Linked DNA regions of Homo sapiens: region 1 is linked to region 2. Evidence: promoter capture Hi-C in 16 types of primary human blood cells and fetal thymus (Javierre and others, 2016). All regions are on one chromosome and are shown on one strand. The core of a region is centred on a gene start or on the middle of the fragment in contact, and the rest is flanking DNA. Distances in the headings are between cores, read along the strand shown.

What was found. The method cuts DNA at HindIII sites, captures the fragments that hold promoters and counts their contacts. A CHiCAGO score of 5 or more calls a contact.
Region 1: the fragment with the promoter of BHLHE23 here is called in contact with the fragment with the promoter of SLCO4A1 in region 2 in 2 of 17 cell types (neutrophils and non-activated CD4 T cells); the score reaches 6.1 in neutrophils.

The regions. Positions count from the first base shown.
Region 1 is chr20:63,002,686-63,008,711 of GRCh38, forward strand. It overlaps BHLHE23 (basic helix-loop-helix family member e23), which reads right to left and starts at 4,279. Exons shown (of 1, transcript NM_080606.4): 1 at 3,242-4,279. The coding sequence starts at 4,089. The coding sequence ends at 3,364. RefSeq lists enhancers at 1,160-1,673, 3,998-4,703, 4,704-5,411. The HindIII fragment of the contact is 10,733 bases long and covers 1-6,026 here.
Region 2 is chr20:62,638,328-62,644,476 of GRCh38, forward strand. It overlaps SLCO4A1 (solute carrier organic anion transporter family member 4A1), which reads left to right and starts at 4,176. Exons shown (of 12, transcript NM_016354.4): 1 at 4,176-4,226. It overlaps LOC124904949 (a long non-coding RNA gene), which reads right to left and starts at 4,010. Exons shown (of 2, transcript XR_007067711.1): 1 at 3,326-4,010; 2 at 1-3,019. RefSeq lists a silencer at 3,664-4,613. The HindIII fragment of the contact is 5,977 bases long and covers 3,299-6,149 here.

The sequences.
Region 1 (6,026 bases), core at 3,029-5,528, 360 kb after region 2:
AGTGGGCACAGCCTCTGCCTTTCCTGCTGCCGGCCCAGGCCCCAGCCACAGCCCCAGCCCCAGCCCGCACTCCGGAGAAAGGCTCGATGAATCAGGATTGGAAAAGAAACAAGGATGGGACATTTCCTATTTGCCCAGCTCTAGAATGGACTCCTTAAGTCCATAGGCATTTCCTGGTTATTATTAAACAAAGAGAAAGAAGCAAGGAGTACTTTGCGTGCTTGGTGTTTTCACGGCCGAGAGCTGCAAAACCCGAGGCTGCCAAACCACGCGTGGCCACTGAGCACTGAAACGCATTGGAACATGGCTGGTATGAACTGAGCTGGGCTTTAAACACATGCTGGAACTTGAAGACTTAGTGCCAGGAAAGTAAAATATCGAATAACTTTAAATATGGATGACACACTGAAATGATATTTTGGATGTATTGGGATAAGTATTAAGTTATCAATAAAAATAATTTCATCTGCTTCTATTTCCTTTTTTAATATGGCCACTTGAAAATGTAAAATTCTACACATGACCACGTTCTCTCCCTACAGCAACACTGGTCACGGGGTGGTGTGAACACCTCGGTTCTGGGGACGCTGCCTCCCACCTCCCACAGCCTGCACATCTCTACCTAGAAGGAATCTAAAGGTGAGCATCTTAGCCAGACGTGGTGGCTCAGCCTATAATCCCAGCACTTGGGAGGCCGAGGCAGGCAGATCACTTGAGGTTAGGAGTTCAAGACCAGCCTGGCCAACATGATGAAGCCCCATCTCTACAAAAAAATACAAAAATTAGCCAGGCGTGGTGGCGCACATCTGTAGTCCCACCTACTAGGGAGGCTGAGGCAGAAGAATCGCTTAAATCCGGAAGGCAGAGGCTGCAGTGAGCCAAGCCAAGATGGTGCCACTGCACTCCAGCCTCCGTGATGGAGCGAGACTCTGTCTTAAAAAACAAAACAAAACAAAACAACACAGTGAGCGTCTTGAAAAGCTCAGCTGGAAGCAAAGCTCTTTCGTGTTTGGTTCCTCCCTGAGTGTTGGGGGAAGGGTGGCTCCTGGTGGGTGGTGACGGTGAAGTTCTTTCCCGGTGATCCCCAGCCATTCTCAACACACCTGCAGGAGCACAGCCGTCAGAGAAAAGACGAGCAGCCCCCCACGTTTCTCGGGAGCCACGGGCTTGCACAGGCACCCACGTGGGTTCTGCTTTGCTGTTTGCCAGATGTGGGCACACAGGCCGTGGAGGGCTGTCTTGGAATGAGAAGATCCTTGGGCAAATCTGAGAAAGGCCAGATGACACTGTGATTGCCCAGGTGGCTTCGCGAGCAGCCACTGCAGAGAAGGCGAGCTAATTCTCCGAAACACTCCACTCCACTCAGGCCAAGTGAGAAGCATGCAGACGTTTGTAGAACAGTAGACACACAGCTTTGTCATGTACAAAAAAGTTTAAATGTAACTTGAATTTTTATTTAAATTAAGTAATCGGAAGAATTTTTGATTAGTGAAGTGGTTTTTTCAAAAACTTATTCTCCACCCAAAGAGAGAAAGAGAGATTTTTTTCCTCTGCCCTTTTCCTTATGATTTCACACATGTGCTATAATAAGTGGTTGCTTTTAGATGAGTTTTAGCATCTCAGAGACTCTTCAGACTCTGGTTTCGAGTGGACACAAGTATCTGAAAATTGAAATTATTGTGAATTCAGCTACAAATGAACACTATTTCACTTGATATTAAAATTTAACCATATTATTTTTATAAAATAAATGGCAATAAAATGCTTTATTCTGAATATAAATGATGTACCAATGTCTCTGATTTTAACCAGAATAAACACCCCTGTTTCAAATTCTGATAAGCAGGTAATTTATTTAAGATCACGTTGAAATGACCCTAGAAGTGAAGGGCATTTGAGTTTCCAGCTTTCCCACTTTATCTAAAAGGGGAAAAACGGTGTCTGGCACTCAGCTTTTCGAATGTGCAAAACTGATAAACTAGTCTGTTAGGGGAAAAAAAAAAGACAATGAAGAAATAAAAGTGGAAATTAGCAGAAACCAGTATTAGGCATATGTCTTTATGAATAAGACTTAACCATACACTTGATTTTGCAAGTACAGAAGGCCCTGTGGAATGTATTAATCAGAGTTAAACGCTGTAGACAGGCGCGTTGCAGGGCGGCGGCCCTCTCCCCTTGGCATTACCGACAGCCGAGGAAATTGGGTTAATAAAGCCGGATACTGCGGCGGGGCCGCGGGGCGCAAACCGGCGCGGACAGATGGGTCCCCGGGGGCACCCTGCCCGGCTCCCTGGATCCCGGATGGTGGCAGAGCTGGGAGCTGCGCAGGACGGGCACTGCGCAGCGCATCTCCGTTCACACCCGGCGGGGCACGGGGCCCGCAGCAGCTTACTCACCCGTAGCCCGGCCTCCTCCCTCGGAAGGGAGAGGGGATCGGTGGGGAGGGGGTTTGCTGGACACCAGGGCTAGACGGGGCCCTCCCCTGACCGTCAGGGTTAAGTAGGGCGCGGGCTGTGAGGACCCTCCTCCACGCAGCCCCCCGAGGCAGAGGGCCCGCAAAGCGGTCTCCATCCAACTCCACCCCGCGGACGTCCCAGGCAGCGGATGGCGGCGGGGGGGGGAGGCCAGGGGACATTTAGGGGACAAATTCCTCAGACTTCGAGGCAGCCGGCGACGGCGTCCAATTCCCAAATAAATAGAACAAACTCCTACTTGGAAAAGGCCTTCCCCGGGGTCTTCCTGCGCCCGCGGTCCAGCTCCTCTGCAGACGGCCATCGTGGGCTCTCCGCAGGGCTGCGGAGTCTCGGAGTCACCGAGGTGGGAGGTGCCGGCCACGCGCGTCCTCAGGAACAGAGCACTGCCCTGCAGTTTAGCACGAAGGGCCGGCTGGAGCGGGAGCGCGAGGCCCACTGCAAGAGGATCAGGAGCCAGTAAGTCCGGCTTTTCTTCGTCTCCACCTTTCGTGCGCCCGGGGCCAGGACCGCCTGTCCGGAATCTGACCAGTGCCCGTCCTCGCCGTGGCCCTGGGACCCCGCGGTGGTCTTCTTTTGGGGACGAACGGCAGTGCCCGAAGGATGCTCTACCCACCCCCGTTCCTAGACTTGCTGGGTCCCGACAATACCCAGTGGGTGCCGCGAGTTCCCGGGCGCAGAGTCCAGCGTCCGGCTCTCGAGCTCAATCCCGCGCCCCGACGGCCTTGGCGCTTCCCGCTGCGCTAAACTGTCCACCGCGCACAGGCTGGAAGCGAAGTCGGGCCCCCTCCTCCTGGTCTGCAGGGTCCCTCCAGGCCTTTCCTGTCCGGGCAGAGAGACAGTCACAGGGGCGATCGGAGGACGCGTGCGGGAGGGCCGGGGGCCCGCGCGGTCACGGCTTCTCGTGACAGTGTTTGCAAAGCGCGGAGGGCGTCCCGGAGAAGGCGGCGCACTTGTCAGGGCAGGGCCCCAGGGCGGCGCCTGCGGAGAAGGGGCACACAGTGGCCTGGCCGAAGGGCGTCAAGGGCGCGGCGTTTACGGGCGCGGCCAGGCCCTGGCCCTGGTTGAGGAAGGCCACCAGGCGCCGCATCTCGTCCAGGGCCTGCGCCTGCATGAGGATATAGTTCTTGGCGAGCAGCAGCGTGGCGATCTTGGAGAGCTTGCGCACCGACGGGCTGTGCGCGTAGGGGATGACGGCTCGCAGCCCGTCCAGCGCGTCGTTTAGGTCGTGCATGCGCCGCCGCTCGCGCGCGTTGATGCTGAGCCGCAGAGACCGCTGCTCTCGCGGCCGCCGCCGCCCGTCCGCCGCGCTCCCTGGCCCGCGCCGCCGCCGCCGCTGCTCGAAGGCGTCGTCCTCGTCCCCGCTCTGTTCGCCGCTGCTCTCCGCCGCCTGAGCTGGGGCGCGAGGTGCAGGCGCCGCGGGGAGGTCGCCGCCCGGGCCCGGAGTGCCGTAGCCGCGGGCCGCTTCGGGTTCTCGCGCCGCCCCGTAGGCGAGACCCGCAGCCGCCGCCGCGTAGCCGTGGCTTAGTGCCAGGTACGCGTCCCCCGACAGCGACTTGAGCTCGGCCATGGCCGCGCCGCCTGGGCTCGGGGGCTCGCCGGGTGGGCGGATGCTCATGTGGGTGAGCAGCCCCCGAGGCCGGCCCGAGCCCGCCGCTGCCGCTGCCGCTGCGATGAGGCTCCCGGCTCTGCGCGTCGGTCTGGCTTGCCTGCGGGTCCCAGAGCCTCGGCGCCCGCTGCCTCCTCCGCCTCTTCCTTCTCTCCCACCTCCTCTCCCTCCCAGCCGCGACGCGCAGGGGGCGGGCTCTACCTCCCCCTCGCCCCCGCTTCGGTTTTAAGCCGCGGAGGCGCCCGGTGGGACCTCGCTGCTGTCCAATCAGGGGGGACCGGGTGAGCTCCTCTTCCTGGAGCCGGGCTCCACCAGCGCCGCAGGCTCACAGGCCGGGGGTGGGGGCTCTGGACCGAGGGGCGGCGCGGGGCGGCGCGGGGCGGCGCGCGCGGTCCTGGAGCGCTAGTACTTGCTTCTCGACTCCCCGGCCGCCGCCTCCGGCCGCCCCGGGGATTCCGCCACCAAACGCACGCGTCCCAGGTGGGCACCCGCCTCGGTCCGTCTTTGAGTCTGACCCTAGCGCAAGAGTCCCTGGCGACACGCAGGGGCCAGAGCGGGGGGGCGCGCCGCAATAGCAGCAGCGCCAGCGCCAACACCCTGTCCCGCTGAGGGGCCGCTTCGGGTCGGGGTCAGGGTCGTGGGCGCTCTGGTGCAGCCGCGGCGCAGCGTGTACCCGGAGCCCGCACACTCCCTGCTCGGGGCGCCCTGTGGCCAGGCTTGAGGGGCAGAGTGAGAGGGAGTTTCTAGAACCTGTTGAAAAACGCCACGAGCGTTGCAGGCCGGGGAGGGCGGGAAGGTGGAGGGCAGCGCGGCCTGGGGCTCCCCGGGGGTGGGAGGGGAGCTCTGTGAGCTGCAGGACCGCCTCTTCCCTGCCAGCCGCTTCCTGGGCATCTATCAGCGAAACGCGTGAGGCTTGGTGGGCTTTCCCGGAGCCTCCGAACCCCTGGGGTCCAGCCACACTGGATGGGAATGTGGCCAGCCTCGGACTCGCCTTTTCAGTCCTCTTCCAACCCCGCATGAAGGCCAGAACCCCAGCCCTTCTCCCAGGTGGGAACCTGCCTGGAGGCCCGGCCGAGTGCTGAGGCTAGAGTGTGCTGAGGGATAGTGGCTTCTCCGGTCCTGGCTTGGGTGGGAGACTGGGCCACCCTGGCCTATGGCACGAGGTGGAGCGGCCCGTCGGGCCCTTCTGTGTGACCTGGGAAGGGCCGCATACCCTCCCTGTTCTCCAGGCTCCGCCCCAGGAGGAGCCACAGCGATGGGGCAGTGTGCGCAGCCCCGGGAGGGGAGTGGGAGCTGCACGTGTGTGGGGCGGATGTGCTGTCTGGAAGGTTCTGGGAACGCAGCAGTGACCGGCCTGTCCGGTGGTTCCCTGCCAGGTGCGGGGTGTGAGGAGACAGATGCATGGATAAGTCTCCGTGGGAAACTCAGGCCTTTGTCCTGGCGGAGGGGAATGGGTCTGAGGCAGCCTCTGCCGGGCTGGCGGCCTGTCTGGCTGCGCGTCCTGCAGCACCGGCCTCACCCCCAGCACACGCCCGCCAGGAGCGCAGGGGCCCCGAGGATGGAAGCGTCTGTCTGAGGCGCTGTCCTGGGACCCCACCCCGCCTTCGGGGCTGATGCACAGACCGGGAATTGAGGATACCTGGTGTGGAGGAGGCCGCTGTGTTTGGGCCTGGGTCTGAAGGGTGAGTGGGTGTCATTGTGGCCACGGGCCGGGGTCGGGGGAGCATTCAGGTGGCCGGAGGAGGCCTGGCACAGGGAAGGGCAGTGAGGGGCCCGGGTGGGGCCAGGAGATAGAGGGGCGGGACCAGGCCTGTGGGACAGTTTGAATCACGCGGGGAGTTTGGTCTTTATGGGAAGAAAGGCGCCGTGGCCATTCGGAGAGCCACTCTGGCACTGCTGCCGGTGCGGTCCGGGGCTGCGGGGCCTCCTCCTGGGCCTGAACTGCA
Region 2 (6,149 bases), core at 2,926-5,425:
AAAGAGAACATGATACCGTCATGTAGCTGCCTGTCCAGACGCTGAAGCCTGTGCTTTCACCGGACCCTAGTGCTTGTGAATGACGACCTCTGTTCTCCTGGGTCAAAACTTCCTTCACCACCGTCAAGAAGGCCACCCTTTGTCGGCGGGTTAAATGCAGTGTTATTTACATATGGTTTATCTGGGCATCTATAATCCCAGGGCGAGAGCCCACCATCCACCAGCATTTTGGAAGAACGCCTGAGACCTGAGACCTGAGACCTGGTGCAATGGAATCAGATTCCCTGGTAGCTGCTTTTAATGGTGACAGATTCTCTGAAACAGAAAAAGATTGAATTGAGTCTGTCTCCCTGGAGTCGTCCTGCTCTGGGAGATGCAGAGGGAGGGCGGCAGGAGGGAGGACAGTGGGAGGCCTCTGTTGGTCAATTGCTAGGCTGCTGTCACCAGATGGTGGATGGCGTTTGTACAGCACTGGCCAAGGGCCCAGCTCAGCAGGGCCAGAGCCTCAGGTCATGTCGCAGGTGAGCAAAGCAGCGTGGATGGAAGACGAAGATCTTCGTCCCACGGAGGGCTTGCTGTGCGCCCCGCAGGACGCAGATCACCGGGAAGAGCAGGAAGCAGAAGCGCAGGAAAGCCAATGCTGTGACTGAGGCGTGGCCAGCAAGCCAGGCCCTCCAGCCACACCCTGCTCCAAAGGGGCTCCGACAGGATGGACTGATGATTTCCAAGAGAGAACATGCTTTTTATCTTCTATGGAATTTTGCTACCAAAGAGCCTCCCAGCTACCTGTGCCCTTCCCTAACCTGACAATCTTAATTCCCCCATGAAACTCCTCCATCGCGGACATTTGGACAACTCCAGGCTGAGTTTTTCCTAAGGCCACTCTGGCCTTGTGCGTCTCTTCTTTGCTAAGCTGTGTGCCAGCCGCCAGCCCACATCTGGGTTGTACCATGATCCTAACTCCTCACCTGAACACAGCATTTAACAGACTGAAACGTGCCACTCTGGAGCTGGGGACTTCAAGCCACATTTCGCCTGCAGCCCGATCGCCTTCAATCTTTAGCAAAATCCTCTTTCTCATGCAAAACAGTGCAGTCGTAACTTTTAAAATATTTTTTAGAAACTTTCTCTAGAGCCTCCACCACATGGCCACAGCCTGAGACTTTGAAATAATGAAACAATTAAATGATGTTTTCATCATTTCTGAGACTTGCCCATTATCACGAAGCTGAAATGGCCATTTTTTTATAAGTCAAGGAAGGACAGGCAGTTTCAAATGAGTTGGCTAAGACATACGCCAAATTCATAGAAAATAGAAATGAACTATGACTACAGAATGGAAGCAACCACAGAAATATTAGCAGGATTTTAAGTATTATCCCAATCAAGTACTAATAGCTAAGTGAGGTCATTTTTTGGATACCATTCCTGGTCAAAGCTAGGAATGATGTGTGTTCCAGGCTGGACCCTCCAGGCAGAGGCACCGGGATCCCACGCTGTTTCTGGGTTGGCCATTAACCTGCCCCTTGACCTGACAGCGTTTCTCTCTCTTCTCTCTCTACACTTCTCTTCTGATCTTTAGATCGATTTTCCTCCAAGTGACAATGTCCATAAAGAGAGAGGGAGGTGGAAATACAGGCTGTCACATTTCAGCTCTTTGAGGTGCCTCTAAAGATGATGTCAGAGAACAGTAAGTGGCCCACAAATGTGCAGCATCTGTTCCGAGCCTCCTGAAGCCGCCCGGACAGGCAGCAGTACGACCCTGCAAGGCCACAGGGGAGCCAGGGGGTTCTCGCTTTCTTTTTCTTTTAATTATTTCCTCTCAAAAAAGAAAAAAAAAAAAGAAAAGAAAGAAAAAAAGCCCTGCTGGGATAGAACTTATTGAGTTCAGAATGTTCCAGGGCACATAATCAGGCTGCCCTTGTTCCAAGACACTGCTGTGCTCTGTAGCTGACCCCCGAGTCCTCTAGGGCAAGAGTAAGGACACAGTCGGCTCCCGAAAGCTGGTGCAGATGGACCCCACCACGCAGGGCCTGGAGTTGGGCCAGACCTGCAGACCCCCTTGATGGCCTGCGGCAGGACCCTTCACCTGGGTCAAGGCCTCCTGGTGCTCCTAGGGGCCTCTTGAGGAGCCTGGGCACCAGCATTTGCCTTTGAGGACAGGACTGAGGGCCTGCATTTTGCACGAATGTACCTGAAATGTTTGCTCTGGATTTACCTTTCCAATGGTGCCTATGCAGGAATCCCAAAGAATGCCTGGTGGGGTCTGAGGCGGGTCTCAGGCCGGGAGCCCTCCACAGGCAGCAATATTTGGCTAGAATTTAATGCCATTTTGTTTCTTTTTATCTATTTTTATGGTGACCTCTTTGTGGTAATTGACACTGACTTTTTAAAAAATAAACTTACCCTTTTAATCAAATGTGTGAATTGTTTAAAGGAAAAACATTGTGTAAATAATGTTTTCAGGGGGTAGAATCCAGACGTGAGTTTTGGAAACAGAGTCCAGTCCTGCTTCTGACATTTGAATTGCTTCTCCAGCATCATCACCAGAAGATGGGCTACCTGTGCTCACAAGCCTCCTGTAACACGGAGCTCACCACCTCTCAAAGGCACCTTCTGTCAGGTCTGCCTGGAAATGCTGCTCCCGCAGACTCCGCACCTGAGGCCAGGTCTGCAGCGAAGCTCATCCACACCTGAGGCCAGGTCTGCAGCGAAGCTCAGCCCCCTTCCTTCACAGGAGAAATACTTCTGGGTGTGCACCTTCCACTCCTGGCAGGGCCGTGAGCCCCTGTGGCAGTGCCTCACCCTCTGGGAGGGACCCTCTCCATCTGGGAACAATGTGGGTACTTTTTTCTCTTAAAGGGCAGTGTCAGGAATGAAAGCAGATACCCAAAAGCAGTGGGTCTCGTGGCCTCGTGTCTGCTTCCAGAAGTGGAGGGCGGCCTGGGACGGCGGGAGCCCTGAGGACACCACCGGGGGGGTCCCGGGACCTGATACGAGTGGGCAGGAGCCCCAAGCCCTGGAGGAAGGAAAACCATTTCATAAATAACTGCATGGGGTTGTGGGCCTTTTCTCACAAGCCGCAGCACCTCCTTCGTCTCTCCACGGTGAACCCGCCCGCCACGCTATGCCACCAGGCCAGGTCCTGCAGCACCGCCTCCGTGGCTAGGACTTCCTCACCAGCCTGGGGCCGTGAGGTGGTCATTTCCCCCCTTACCTGACTTATCTCAGGATTCACACACACACACTTGACTTTCGGAAACTTCTTTTAAATTAATTTCACTGACACTAAAAGGGAAGCTTTGTGGAGTGTGATTGTGGTTACCTGTTAATACTTGGCAACAATTATGAGCCCTGATATGAGCCAACTTCTTCCGTCTTATCCCCTTTGAGGACGCTCTGTTATCGCCCCCATTTTGCAAACGAGGAAACTGAGGCTCGGAGGCCTGGAGCAATGTGTTCCAGGACAGACGGCAGGAAGCCGGGGTAGGAATTCCAACAGGGAGTTCCCTCTGTGGAAGGGAACGTGGCTGGCACCTCCCTGCCTTCCACCCTCAGAGCTAGTGTGAAAAAGAAGACGGGGTTATGGAAAAGGCAACGGGCTGGAGATTCCCCGGATTCCCAGGCTAGGGCGCCGGTCTCACTGTGCGCGCAGGTGGGGCGCGTGCCAGAACAGGGCCTGGGGGTCAGGCCGAGACCGGCGGGCACCTTCACCAGGGCCGCCCGTGGCGTTCCCCCAGCCCCTCTGCCGCGGGCCCCACGTGGCCCCGACCCTGCGGCAGCCTTTCGGAAGGGCGGAGCTGAAAAACGGCCGCTTGGCTCCACTCGGCCCCACAGCGCCCAGGAGCGAATCCCGAGTCCGTTCGGAACCGCCTCGCCGCGTGGCCTGGGGCGGCGTCGCCACCGCGCGTTCTCGGCCTCCCGGCTGCGGCAGCGATGCCGGTCCTTGGAGCTGGAGCGGGGAGTCCAGGAGGCGGCAGCGCTCCGGAGAGAGACGCCCTGGTCCCCCGCCGCGCGTTCCCGCCTCTGTGCCCTGGGGGGGAGGAGGGGGCGGTCGCCGCTGCCATTGGCCGTGGGGGGTGAGGCGGGCCCCGCGCAGGAAACCCCGCCCCTCCCTCTGCGGCGGGGGCGGCCCCAGCGGATGAATGAAGCGGCGCGTGGCTGCCGGGGAGGCCAGAGCGTGGAGCGCTGCGCGGCGCGGCGGCCGGGCCCTCGAGACGGGGACGGTGAGTGCGCGGGGAGCGGGGAGCTGGCGCGGGTGCACAGGGCCCGACCTGCTGGCGTAGGAGCGCGGCAGGTGCCGCCATCGTGGGCAGGGGCTGGAGCGCCGGGGGGATGCGCGCGGGGGCGGGAGGCCTGGGCACCGGCCGAGCGCCCCGAGCCTCTCCGCGGGGGAGGGCAGGACCGAGCGGAATCGGAGGCCAAATTCGCCGCTTCCCGCCGCCGGCTGCGCAGGTAGGAGCTCCCGAGTCGCCCGCAGGAGGACCGAGGCGAAGGGGCCCCACGCTGCAGCGGGTGCCGGGGGGAAGCGGGTGAGCAGGGGCTGCGGCCCTGGCAGGGACTGTCGGAGTGGCCGGGGCAGGTGACCTGGGCAGGTGGCCCGGAGCGCGCGCAGGCGCAGGCCCCACAGATCCAGCTGGGGACGAACGCGCCTCCGCGGAGCTCCAGAGTTGCGGAGTCACCCACCTGCGGCGGCCGCTGCTGCCGAGTCAAGGAGGAAACCTTCATGCACGGAAGTTTCTCGGGGGCGGCCGGGCTTTGTTCGCGCCAGAGGCGCTCGAGACATCTCCGGGAGGGGAGCGCGGGCGGAGCGCACAGGGCTAGTTTCCAGCAGCGGCGGCGCCCCTTTCCCTGCCCCACCACGCGACGTCCTGGCCGTGGCTTGGGGGGACCCGGGCGCCCTCCAGGTGCAGGCAGAGGGTCGGGTGCCCTCGCGTTGCTGTTGGGCTCCCCTGACCAGGGAGGATGGAAAGGAAGGAGCAGGCAGGCTTAGCTGCCCTAGACCGGCCCTAGACCGGGAACCTGGAAGCAGATCTGACTTCCACTTCCAAGGGAGAAACCGCCTCCCGCACTGGCGCCCCGAGGGGAGAGAGAAGCCCAGCTAGGTTTCCGCGTGGTCCGCGTGGTTGGTGAACCCTCAGGCTGGGGGGTGCCCCGCTTGGCGTGCAAGGCCCTCTTTGGAGCTGCCGTGGGACCTGGCTATGCGTCCTGTTTCTGTCTGGAGGCGGCTGGAACGCGGTAGTTTTCCACATCCATGCAACCAGCTTGTCAGCTGCTGCTCCTCAGCTGTGGTTTTTGGAACTTGGGTTACCTCCATCTAATCAGAAACTGGCTCTGCAGAGCCCGGTGTCAGCGACGTTTTCATTCCCAGCAGCGGGAGCAAATGGATCTCAGAGGACAGCTCCTTGGCCTTAGCCGGCTCCGCTTGTGAATCTGGTAATAATGACAAGGACAGTGACAGCAGGGGTTAGGTGTTGAGTGCTGGAATGTGCCGGGCATGGTACCCCTGCTTTGAGCATCGTCTCATTCAGTCCCTAGCAACCCCACGAGGTGGCCATTATCACTCCCACTTTATAGATGAGTAAACTGAGGCACCAAGAGGTTAAGTGATTGACTCTAGGCCACACAGCTTGTAAGTGCTGAAGAGGTCTGACTCCAGGTTTGTCTGATCCAGGCTTGGGCTCCTGTTTTACGACTCTGTTCTTAAAGAGGCAAAAGGCGACTGCAGGGTCAGGCCGGAGACCCAGAACAGCGTCCCAAGAGCTGGGCCTGCGGTTACTGGGCCAGAGTGTCTGTTCTGGGTTGTCAGTGATCGCAGGACACCAGTAGGATGTTGCTCGGGCCGAGACCACACAGCCCGACTTCCCTCTGTGCTGCTGGAGGGAGCCAGGGCAGAGGCCGGCCACTCGGTGAGACCTGGACGCTGACCACAGCCAGGCTGCCCTGACCGCCCTCAGCAGGCTGTGTCCTGCCTTCCTGCTGGGCAAGGTCAGCAGGTGGTGCCTGGAAAATTCTTCATGAGGGAGCTTCCCTCCCGAGTGGCCGTGACCTAATCTGTAGCTCACTGGGTGTGGCCCCTAAAGCAGGTGCTGGGCAAGTCCCTCCCATGGTGGAGAGCTGGCTGGGCACGTGGCAGGCAGGGCAGGCTG